Linked DNA regions of Homo sapiens: region 1 is linked to region 2. The links are contacts of gene promoters, found by promoter capture Hi-C in blood cells and fetal thymus (Javierre and others, 2016). All regions are on one chromosome and are shown on one strand. The core of a region is centred on a gene start or on the middle of the fragment in contact, and the rest is flanking DNA. Distances in the headings are between cores, read along the strand shown. Region 1 has its middle 29 kb from the start of NFKBIA. Region 2 holds the start of SNX6 (sorting nexin 6).

Region 1 (6,396 bases), core at 3,693-6,192, 800 kb before region 2:
GGTTGCATTAAGTAAGAAAGTAAGATGCCAAGCTGTATGAATAGGGTATGGTGGTGTTTATGGGGTGACAAAAATATTCTGGAATTAAATAGTGGTAATTGGTTGCATAACATTGTGGCTATACTAAAAGACACTGAATTGTACAGTTTAAAATGGCTAAAATGATAAATTTTATGTTGTATAGATTTTACTTCAAGTTTTAAAAAACAGTATGAATAACATGATCCCATTTTTGTGTGAAAAAAATATTTTTAGTATGTACATAGAAAAAAACCTAGAGAGAAATACACTAAGTAATTGGCAGTGATTATCTCTGAGTGTGATAGACACAGTATATTGTTAATAACCATGTTGTATATATCTGTAATGTTGGAAATTTTAATAAACAGAGGACTTAGAACTTTCATATCCAGAAAAAAAGATACTAAATCACTTGAAAAGTAGAGAAAGAGGTCTAATTATCTGAGAACAAATAACTGAGCCAGTAAAAAATTCCTTTCAAAGATAACTCAAAATAACTATTTCAGTGGGAATTGCATTATTTCAGAATCATGGGATTGTAAAGGTTTTGTGTGTGTGTACATTTCCTTAATAAAGAAAAAGGAGAACATGTACAAACGCTTCTTCAACGTAGTTAGATGCTAAAATTTAACCTTCATTGAGACTGAAAATGTAAACACTCATTTGTCTAGGAGGAATTGGTTACTAAAGTCTGTGTACCCTGATGCTTCTGTTGCCAACCAAAGCATCTGCTGGGTCCTGACCTTCAGATAATAAAAGTAATTATAAGACTCATGATCAGAAGATTGGGATTCTGGTTCCAGCTAAGCCACTAATTTGCCATGTGAATAGAGCCAAATCCTCTAATCTTACTATACTTCCATTTCTTTCTTTCTAAAAATGGGGAGATGCTACTGAAAGAGATCAGGATATGCCATCCCAAAATATGCCACTTTGGCATAAGGATTATTTTGAGCTGAAGGCAACTGATGGAGGAAAAGGTCTCTGCCCTCCCTTTATCTGCCTAAAAACAGGACATAAATTTTCCTTTGAGGAAGGTACTCCTCTATGCCAGGAAACTGAGAATGACTCATTACCAGAGATGTCACACCAAGATGACTCCTCATAAACAAGCCCTACTAAAATAACCCTTATCTCCCATTAGTTTCCTTCATATATTTCCTAGTCAATTCCCACAATATTTTCCCTTGAAGCCCAAACCCATCTTCTTTTTTTAAGAAGGGTATACAAACTCCAGGTTCTGGCCAGGTGCAGTGGCTCACACCTGTAATCCCAGCACTTTGGGAGGCTGAGGCGGGTGGATTTCAAAAATTAGTGGGGCATGGTGGCACATGCCTGTAGTCCCATCTACTCAGGAGATGGAGACAGGAGAATCACTTGAACCTGGCAGTCAGAGATTATGCCACTGCGCTCCAGCCTGAGCGACAGAGTGAAACACTATCTCAAAAAAAAAAATTCAAGTTCTGAGCACGTCTTTGAGTTTTCACATCATCTCTGTGAAGCTTCCATGCATTTAAAAGTATTAATATCAATAAAAATCATACATTTTTTTCCTGTTAATCTGTCTTTAGTCAGTTAAATTTGCAGGCCTCATTCACTGAAACTAGGTGGGAAGACAAAATATTTTTCATCCTGAAGAGCACTAAATAGAATGGTAACCTTAGGTGCTTACATAAGAAATTGAAAACCCAATCAAAATACTACACTCAGAAAATTCCATTTAGGGCAGTGCATATTATTTTATATAATCTTAAAAGTGTCTGTTATGGCAACTAAGCACAGTGACATGACCAAATGTACATGTTTGTGATGACAGACACTAGACTGTATACTTACATGACATTTTGAAAACCTAGAAGTGAGGCATTTATAAAAGAGTGAAGGCCGGGTGCGGTGGCTCACGCCTGTAATTTCAGCACTTTGGGAGGCCGAGGCGAGCGGATCACTTGAAGTTGGGAGTTTGAGACCAGCCTGGCCAACATGATAAAACCCCATCTCTACTAAAAATTAAAAAAAAAAAAAAAAAATTAGCCAGGTATGCCGGTGGGCACCTGTAATTCCAGCTACTCGGGAGGCTGAGGCAGGAGAATCACTTGAACCCGGGAGGCAGAGGTTGCAGTGAGTCAAGATCGCACCACTGCACTCCAGCGACAGAGTGAGACTTCGTATCAAAAAAATAAAAATGAAAAAAAAAAAAATGAAAAGCAGGGCCAAGCTTAGGGCCCAGATCTCCTTCCCACCACTTCCTTCCAAAATGTTGGCCTGTGATACTCACAGCTACAACTTCTCTTTAATACCTAGATATAAATCTCATTCAATAAAAACAATTAGCAGAAGAGAGAACATTCAACAGTTGCAATTACCTAAATGTCCCTCCGGTAACCATTTGAATGACTAAATCCTCTACATTGATTGTTTCAGTGAATGATAATTAAAACCAAATAACCTCCAGGCTCATTTGATTCTACAGTGACAATACTAAACCTCTAGACATTATATTGCAAAGCCCTGAATTGAGCCAGGCAAAGCAAAACCAAAGTACAAGGAGAATTGAGTGGTGGGTGGAAGGGTGCTGGTGCATACTAGAGAAGAAAGAAGGCAACAGACACCCTTCACAAGCACATTTAACTGTAGATAGGGGAGCCCCGCGACACCACTTCCTAGTCAGGGAGACTCCTTCCAGGCTTTGTATGGGGAATGGTGTAGTTAGATTAATAACGGCTTCCTACTATTTCCTTCATGTTCCATAAACCAACATGCATCTCACTTCTGCCCTCTGAAACATTGCTTCCCTTATTGTTGAATCCTTTACCCAATTCCATAAGGCCTACTGGGAATATTGTTTTGGGCTTAGACATACGATTAAAGACTTTGTGTGGTTTTTTTTAATATAAGGTAAGAATTTTGCCAGACAAATATGGACTAAGATTAGATAGGCCTTGTTTTCCATATTTATAATACAGAGAGGGAGCATCATCCTGATTAAGTTAAAGCAGAGATTGTGCCCTCATCATTGTGCCCTCAGAGGTTAGTGAAGCACACAGTAATTTCACAAAAATACTCTTTGAACTGAACTTAATGCAAAGTATGTTGAACTAAAATCCATGCCTAACAATATTAATGTACAAATTGTACATTAATAAATCATTCCAAAGCACCATGTTTGTTGCAATTTTTAAATACTCAAAATAGCAGGTGGGCAGACTTGATAAATCATTGCTCTATAGTATACGTTAATACCAGGATCTCAGCTTTCCTCTGCAGGACAAGCACTTCTAGGTAGATGTCAAAGTCAAAAGTTTGGGTAGTTCAGCACCTTCTATAATCAATCAGTGAATCAACACTTATAAAGCACTTACTATGTGCTCGGCATTGTTCCAGCCACAAGATTAGAATGGGGAATCTTCTGGGATCCGCTGAAAATATTGGAAGGCTCTTTCCCAGTAAACTACAAATTACCCCCCAAGCCCTATTTTCTTGGAATTTGTACTAAGAATCCCATATCTGCAAGCAATGTACTTTCAAATAGTGCAGTTTTCATAGCCTGCGTGTTGAATGGGACCCACATGTAATGGCATCTATGATGCACTAAAATAGAGAAGGTCACAAGGGGCCAGGTTCAGTAGCTCACGCCTGTAATTCCAGCACTTTGGGAGGCCAAGGCGAGTGGGTCACTTGAGGCCAGCAGTTCAAGACCAGCCTGGGTAACATAGTGAAACCCAGTTTCTACAAAAAGTGAGGTTAAGTCTGCATTGAGCCATGATTGAGCCACTGCACTCCAGTCTGGGTGACAAAGCCTGTCTCAATCAGTCAATCAAAAAGTCACAAAATCCCCAACACTATAAATTAAAAAACTGTAGAAAACACAGTGCTAACTTCTCCCCTATTAATCTTAAAATAAATTTGTTTTTCATTATTGTAAACCTGTTGGATGTTTGATTGTTTTGATTTAAGAGAAAGGGTCTCATTATGTTGCCCAGGCCGAATGCAGTGGTTATTCAAGGGCTCAAACTCCTGGCCTTAAGCAATCCTCCTGCCTCAGCACCCCCCCCACCCCCCACCAAGTAGCTGGGACAACAGGCCACATGGCAAGAGGCTTGAAATTTTTTATTGTTGTTGTTACCATGCACATATTACCCATCACCACTCTCACACCGCGCCCCCAACAACAAATCTGTGCCTAAAATGACACTATTTGAATTTATCTTTTAGTAGACCATCCAGATTCTTTAAAGTTGTCAGGAGCCCTGTCCCTTTAGCAAGCTGGGTCAGAAAAAAGCACTACTATACTTGGATTAATTTTTAAATGTTTAAACACCTAATTGGGAAAAATGAAAATTTAAAGTAATTAGAAGACAATTTAGAAGATTAGAAGATTCTCTATGACATCTGGACACAAACAAGATGAAAAGCATAAAACAAACACACGTATTAAATTAAACTATATTAAAATGTAAAGCTTCGGCCAGGCGTGGTGGCTCACGCCAGTAATCCCAGCACTTTGGGAGGCCGAGGCGCGTAGATCATGAGGTCAAGACGTCTAGACCATCCTGGCCAACATGGTGAAACCCTGCCTCTACTAAAAATACAAAAATTAGCCAGACATGGTGGCATGCACCTGTAGTCCCAGCTACTTGGGAGGCTGAGTCAGGAGAATCGCTTGAACCCTGGAGGTGGAGGTAGCAGTGAGCCAAGATCAAGCCCCTGCACTCCAGCCTGGTGACAGAGCGAGACTCCATCTCAAAAAAAAAAAAAATGTAAAGCTTCTCCAAATTAACGCAGGAACAGAAAACCAAATATGGCATGTTCTCACTTATAAGTGGGAGTTAAACATTAGGAACTCATGGAAATGAAGATGGAAACAATAGATATGGGGACTACTAGAGCGGCGAGGGGGGAATGGAGCAAGAATTAAAAAACTACCTACTGGGTACTATACTCACTATCCGGGGTGACAAGATCATTTGTATTCCACATCTCAACATCAAGCAATGTACGCATGTAACAAACCTGCACGTGTACTCCCTGAATCTAAAATAAAAGCTGAAATTATTAAAAAACAACAAAAAGCAAAGCTTCTCTATGACAATAGTTACCACTTTTTTGGGGGGGTAGTTATAAAAATTTATTATACATAAAGAATATTACTACTAACAAATGCAGACAGGCTAGGACACCATGGTACTGGGAGGAGGACGGCTAGCTCTTTGGAAAGTGAAAGGTTTGGGTGGCGTGGGCCTCATGCCATGCTGATTGGTCAGTAGACAGGGGGCACATGCCAAACACCACAGGGCATCAGGGCATCAGGTGCCTGTTCTGTGTGCCCACAGGTGTTCCCTGTCTTATCTGGGCCTTCTAAGGGAGCACACCCAGAAGCGAGCAACTGAAGCCAAGGGGCTTCCAAAGTGCCCCTTCCAGGCCTGTCTCTGACGTCACAGCAACACCATTTTAAGTAATATGTTTAATTGGATGATTTCCACAAACTAGGACGAAGTTTCTAACCATCACAATTCAGTGAAGTACAAAACACTGAGTTACAGGCTGTGGGAAGAGAAGGCAGCACCAATGGTGCCACCTTCCAATCCTGGTTGTTCTAGGGGCAGGGAGGAGGAAGGTCTTTTTTTAAACCAGTCCCCTCATTTCATTGTACAAAAGAATTACTCTGATCGATATTAAATTGTATTCAAAACGAAACAGACTAAAAAGCAAATACTACTCTATGTTGAGGTGGAAGTGGGAGGAAAGAATGAGTCCTTCGAAGCAGGAAGGGAGATAGCAGGGGGAAGGTTCTGTGCCTGTGACCCCGGGTGGTCACTCATGCTGCTCCATTTTTACTTTCGGTGGTCTCAGGAAGGTCCGATTTTTCTTCTCTTTCTTCCCCTTTGTATTGACTTGGAAGTTTCGCCAGCTGTCCACACGACCATCTCGACCTTCCTCAAAGTTTTTCTGCCACTCTCTTTCTCGTTTGGCTTTTTCTTGAGCTTCAATCTCTTCTTCCCTTTGCCGTTTCCTTTCATGCATCTCTTTGGCTTCTCTCTCTTTCCTTTTAATTTCCAGCTGAGCAAAGAGTTTCATTTTCTGTTTATATACAGCTTGTTTGAACAGCTCAGGATCATCCTCCTCTACAATCGTAGGTTTTCCTTCCTTCTTTGATTGTTTTTTTTTTTTCTCTCTTTCACAGTGTGTTCCACGTATTCTTTTCCTGCCTAAATTACATCCAGGACCCTCTTCTTTTGCTCCTGATCAGTAGCAACTTGTAAGCTTTGTCCACAGTTTCAAAAGCCTTTTGTGCTCTGTCAGCATCATCTTCATTTTTGTCAGGATGCACCAAGATGGATAACTGCCGAAACCTCTTTTTTATTTCTTCATCTGTAA
Region 2 (6,272 bases), core at 60-2,559:
CTACTAAAAATACAAAAAAATTAGCCGGGTGTGGTGGCACACACCTGTAGTCCCAGCTACTCGGGAGGCTGAGGCAGGAGAATGGCGTGAACCCTGGAGGTGGAGCTTACAGTGAGCCGAGATCGCACCACTGCACTCCAGCCTGGGCGACAGAGCGAGACTCTGTCTCAAAAAAAAAAAAAAAAGAGGTATGAAGGACAATCAATTGTAGAAGCCATAGGATTTGGTTGGATATGAGGAGTAAGGGAGATAAGGATTTATTTCTTTCTTTTTTTGAGACAGAGTCTTGCTCTGTTGCCCAGGCTGGAGTGCAGTGGTGCAATCTCGGCTCACTGCAACCTCTGCCTTCCAGGTTCAAGCGATTCTTTTGCTTCAGCCTCCCAAGTAGCTGAGATTACAGGCACGCGCCACCACGCCCGGCTAATTTTTGTATTTTTAGTAGAGACGGGGTTTCACCATGTTAGCCAGGATGGTCTCAAACTCCTGACCTCAGGTGATCCGCCCGCCTTGGCCTCCCAAAGTGCTGGAATTAGAGACGTGAGCCACAGCGCCCGGCCCCTAGAGTACGGATTTCAATGGGTTAAGGGTTTCTGGTCTGAACATCTGAAGATGCCTTTCCTTAACTGAATGCAAGCTCAGGAACGTGTAGATTCTAGGATTAAGTATGATTTTCTCCCGTTATTTGAAATGCCTGTGGATCCCGTGTGATGCTAACCACCTGGACAGTTAGAGTAGGTGTGGGGAAATTTCTTCTAACAAAGGAAAGGAATATTTTTGTAATGAAAACAGCTCATTTTTATAGTTCGCAACCATTAGTGCCCCAAACTCTGAGGTAGTTATTACCTCGCCAGCGGTAAAAGCTTGATTATAGTCCCTGATTACCGACTGTGTGAAGGTCCTTGTTTCCAGCAACTTCCATAGGCAAAATGATATTAATTGTGATTAATTATCGTGTGGCATAATACAAAGACCAGATGATGTATTATGGCTTCCGGAGGGCGCCTGCATCGTTTTTCGCTGGAGCCCTCGGGGCAGGGGAACTGGAGAGCTCCCTGGGTGGCCTTTGGCCCTTCCCTGGTCAGAGCCCGCCAGCTGCGAGGTGCCCCCAGCCATGAGGTCTGGGTCTTCAGGCTCTCCCGACTTCGGTGCCTTGACCTTGGGCAGAAGGCCCTGTTAACCTTCCTCGCTCACGGACTCGAGCGACCAGCGCCGGGGACGGGGCGGGCCGTCCTTAGGCCCCGCCCCTTCGCCTCCGCCCCGCCCCGCCCCGCTCCTGGCCGCCGGCTCCCTCCGGCAGCAGGGAGATGCGCGCCTGCGCCGGCCCTCGCCTCGGAGCAGCCATGATGGTGGGTGTTCTCCGCGGCGCCGAGTCCCGGGAGCGCGGTGGGGGCAGCGGGCGCGGGGCGGGCGCGGGGACCGCGCCAGCCTGTCACTAATGTCTCCCTTTGTGTCTCCCCCATCTCATCCTTTTCCCCGGCGCGCCGTGCCCGCCGACCCCACAGGAAGGCCTGGACGACGGCCCGGACTTCCTCTCAGAAGAGGACCGCGGAGTAAGTTCTGCCTTCCTTTCGCTCGCGGGACCCTGGACCCTCCTTCCCCATCCTGGGTCCCCGGGTGTGGTACGGGGATGGGTCCCCAGCCGCGCGGCACTCCCTCCCCGTAGTCCTCCTTTCGGTTTCCTCGCTGCACCGCGCCCCACCCTCCCGCAGCCCTTCCTCCCTAGGGGCCGCTCGGCTCCGATTCCCGGGGACCCGCGGCCGCTTTCTTGTCCCCCGCCGCTGTTCGGGCCTTCTGGTGGACCTCCACTCCCACGCGGGGCGGGGTGCAGGTGGCGAAGTGGAAATGGAGGCGGGAGATGGAACGCCCCCACCCTCCCTCGACACTTTGGGGCCATGAAAACCCATTCTCGGACCTTCCCAGCGGCACCCTCAATTTTCACCCGGTGTGGACATCTCGAACTTGCTCCCGCCCACCCTTCTGTCTCTCTCAAATAGTACAGGTGTAGTCTACATTACCATTTTGCAAGGATTTTTATAGTAGCCGAATCAACTCCTGTCCAGTGCCCTACTAGATTATGCAAAGTGCAGGTAGCCCATGGTATCTTTACTTTTTCTAATATCCAACAAATCCTGTCTTTGGCAGGATTTCCTTGGTGTTTTATTCCCCCTTAGCTTCTTTGAGGTATATTGACAAATACTGTTGATAATTGTATATACTTAAGGTATACATTATATTTTAATACACGAATACATTGTGAAATGAGTACCAAAATCAACCTGACATATCCATCACCTCACCTAGTTACCATTTTTTTTTGTGTGAGAACATTTGAGATCTAAGCAAATTTCAAGTATGTACCCTTTGACCAACATCGACGCTCCACCCACTCACCCCCCACATACACACTCCGCCAGGCCTTTGATAACCTCCATTCTGCCCTTGGTGTTCTGAGGTTAGTTGCATTCTACTTCAGAAAGAGCCTTCCGGGCTCTGATTCCTCCCTCCCACCCCACTCTCCACCCCCTTTTTCCTTGGCTGAAGGGTGGTAATCTTTATAGTCCCTTGTACAAGTGAGCACTTGGAAAATGTTGATATATGATAATTACCATTCAGCAAGGTTCCATGGTTCCTTCACATTTCACAGCCTGCACTTCAGTTTTCCCTTTTGCTTTTTCTTATCCGTTTTAATGTGAGAGAGACATCTGTTAGTGCATATTTGGTAGGTGATAAAATATTGTGGGATGTTATTGCTGTTTGTAATAACAGATGAGGTAGTTAGTATGAACTGATGACTTTTATAAAACTTTTATTTATTTATTTGGTTTTATGAGACAGTATCTCCCTTTGTTGCCCAGGCTGGAGTGCAGTGGCATGGTTATAGCTCACTGCAGCCTTGACCTCCTGGGCTTAAGTGATCCTCCCACCTCAGCCTCCCAAGTAGCTGGGACTACTGGCACGGGCCACCATGCCTAGCTGGGTTTTTGTTTGTTGGCTTTTTGAGACGGAGTCTTGCTCTGTCACCCAGACTGGAGTGCAGTAGCGCTATCTTGGCTCACTGCAAGCTCCGCCTCCCGGGTTCACGCCATTCTCCTGCCTCAGCCTCCCGAGTAGCTGGGACTACAGGCGCCCGCCACCACGCCCGGCTAATTTTTTGTATTTTTAGTAGAGACGGGGTTTCATCATGTTAGCCAGGATGGTCTCGATTTCCAGACCTCGTGATCTACCCACCCCGGCCTCCCAAAGTGCTGGGATTATAGGCGTGAGCCACCACGCCCGGCCTGTTTGTTTTTATAGAGACAGGGTCTCACCATGTTGCCCAGGCCAGTGTCAAACTCCTGGGCCTAAGTGATCCTCCTGCGATTATAGGCGTGAGTCACTGTGCCCAGCCGAGCTTTTAAATAGTAAGAAAGATGGAGAAGGTGCTGCATACTTTTATAAATTAATTTCTCAGTGTAAACAAAGGCATTATTTAGAATTTCAGGTTAGAGCAAAAGCATCATATAGAATTACTAGTTGTTGGTAAGATTTTTAGTTTCGGCCAGGCACAATGGCTCACACCTTTAATCCCAGCATTTTGGGAGGCCGAGGCAAGAGGATTGTTTAAGGCAGGAATTCAAGATCAGCCTGGGCAACATAGCAAGACCTCATCTGTACCTAAAAATTTTAAGACCAGGCACGGTGGCTCACGCCTGTAATCCCAGCACTTTGGGAGGCCGAAGTGAGTGGATCACCTGAGGTCAGGAGTTCGAGACCAGCCTGACCAACATGGTGAAACCCTGTCTCTACTAAAAATACAAAAATTAGCTGGGCATGGTGGCGCATGCCTGTAATTCCAGTTACTTCAGAGGCTGAGGCAGGAGAATCACTGGATTCATTCACTGGAACCTGGGAGGTGGAGGTTGCAGTGAGCTGAGATTGCACCATTGCACTCCAGCCTGGGCAACAAGAGCAAAACTCCATCTCAAAAAAAGAAAAAAAAGAAAAAACAATTTTTTTTTTTTTTGAAACGGAGTCTCGCTCTTTCGCCCAGGCCGAAGGCCCGACTGCAGTGGTGCTATCTTGGCTCACTGCAAGCTCCGCCTCCCGGATTCACGCCATTGTCCTGCCTCAGCCTCCTGAGTAGCTGGGACTACAGGCGCCCGCCACCGCACCTGGCTAATTTTTTTGTATTTTTAGTAGAGACGGGGTTTCACCGTGTTAGCCAGGATGGTCTCGATCTCCTGACCTCGTGATCCGCCCGCCTCTGCCTCCCAAAGTGCTGGGATTACAGGCGTGAGCCACCGCGCCTGGCCAACAATTTTTTTTTAAACTTAGGCAAGCTTGGTGGTATATACCTGTAGTCCTAGCTATTTGAGAGGCTGAGAGCTTGAGAACAATGAGCTATGGCTTGAGAGAGCCAGGGTGACAGAGTGAGGTCCTGTCTCTAAAAAAATTTTTAAAATTGTATTTCGGGTTTTAAAATAGCGGAAACTAGCAGAGTTACTTAATGAAGTATGAGGAGTTGATTATAGCACAATTAAACTAATTATTCTAAATATAAAGCATATGACCTTTAGATAACTTTATGTCCTATTTTTGGTGTCTACTAGCACAAGCAAACAGGATTTGCTTTCTTGGAGGATCTTAATAATGTTCAGTAAAAATACTAATTTTTGAGTATGTTGATGTTGTGAAAAGTATTTTTTGGTGAATATTTGTGTTCATGGCTTTATGCCTTCAGAAAGATTTGCTCATGAAACTGGAAGCCCTTAAGTAATTTGTCCAGAAACTTTCTCTTTTTTTTTTTTTGAAATGGAGTCTCGCTCTGTTGCCCAGGCTGGAGTGCAGTGGCGTGATCTCAGCTCGCTGCAAGCTCTGCCTCCTGGGTTCATGCTATGCCATTCTCCTGCCTTAGCCTCCTGAGTAGCTGGGACTACAGGAGTGCGCGACCGTGCCCGGCTAATTTTTTGCATTTTTTTTTTTTTTTAGTAGAGGCGGGGTTTCACCTTGTTAGCCAGGATGGTCTAGATCTCCTGACGTTGTGATCTGCCTGCCTCGGCCTCCCAAAGTGCTGGAATTACAGGCGTGAGCCACCGTGCCTGGCCCCAGAGACTTTTTCATGTATTACAAAATTAAAGGGAGAGGAAGACAAAAGAGCACTCCTGACTGTGATGTTCTTATAGAATCCTGTAGATGAAAATTTTAATATGGAAATGGAAAAAAACCTGAATTAGAATGCTTTTAGAACATCAGGATGGATATATACACTTACCCAGTTCTTCCTTATTTTTGTCCCGTGGAACTGGGTGAATCATAATAATTATAAAATTATAGGTGGGCACAGCATAATCATTGTTTCATTATATTTATATTTCATTATATTTCATCATCCCTCTAAAGCCTTTAGTATCCCCCTTTTTCTAATGAGAAATCCGAACTTCAGAGAAACTAAGTTAGTAGTCTGAGGTCACACAGCAACAAATGGGAGAGCTGGACTTTAAAACACATTTCTGATATCAGAGCCACTGCACAGGTTTCTCAAAGTGGCCTTGAAATACTTGCATTAGAATTACCTGGTGCATTTGAAAATCAAAATGAAAGTTTCTGGGTGTCACCTCCTCACTAAATCAGAATCTCTTAGGGTAGGGAATACACAGTATTGAAAACTGTTGGTCACACTTTGATCTCTTCAGCCCCACCTCTACATATGGGCAGATAACTGCATTTTTTTTTTAAATTTTTTTTGAGACAGGGTCTCGCTCTGTTGCCCACGCTGGGGTGCAGTGGCAATCTTGGCTCACTGCAACCTCCACCTCCCGGGTTAAGGTGATTCTCCTGTCTCAGCCTCCTGAGTAGCTGGGATTATAGGTGCCCGCCACCAGGCCTGGCTAATTTTTTTGTATTTTTAGTAGAGACAGGGTTACACCATGTTGGCCAGGCTGGTCTCAAACTCCTGACCACAGGGGATCTGCCCGCCTCGGCCTCCCAAAGTGCTGGGATTACAGGTGTGAGCCACCGCGCCCGGCCGATAACTGCTTTTTTGACCAGCACCCAAGGAGTTTCTGTTTGTGCACTGAAATTTGATTACTGCTGCAGAAAGTTATCCTGCTATTTCCTCATTTTAGGAATAGAAATATCTGGCCTGTTTAAATTTCCTTACATTGTGTTTGTCCTGATAGAAATAGATTACCATAATTAGAACTTTTAGGCATTGCATTTTTAGTTTAGATCATCTTGTTGAGCCTTTTAAGAAAGGGAGTCTTGGCTGGTCACAGTGGCTCACTCCTATAATC

Evidence for each region. Contacts are between HindIII fragments. The CHiCAGO score rates a contact against its expected background, and 5 or more counts as called.
Region 1: a fragment that was not itself captured here is called in contact with the fragment with the promoter of SNX6 in region 2 in 4 of 17 cell types (total B cells, fetal thymus, neutrophils and 1 more); the score reaches 7.1 in total B cells.

What each region holds. Positions count from the first base shown.
Region 1 is chr14:35,430,068-35,436,463 of GRCh38, reverse strand. It overlaps the pseudogene DNAJC8P1. Among named protein-coding and RNA genes, the nearest start is that of NFKBIA, 29 kb to the right of the region's middle. The HindIII fragment of the contact is 312 bases long and covers 4,787-5,098 here.
Region 2 is chr14:34,625,185-34,631,456 of GRCh38, reverse strand. SNX6 (sorting nexin 6) reads left to right here and starts at 1,309. Exons shown (of 14, transcript NM_152233.4): 1 at 1,309-1,346; 2 at 1,503-1,550. The coding sequence starts at 1,341. RefSeq lists an enhancer at 986-1,035 and a silencer at 1,206-1,555. The HindIII fragment of the contact is 3,459 bases long and covers 863-4,321 here.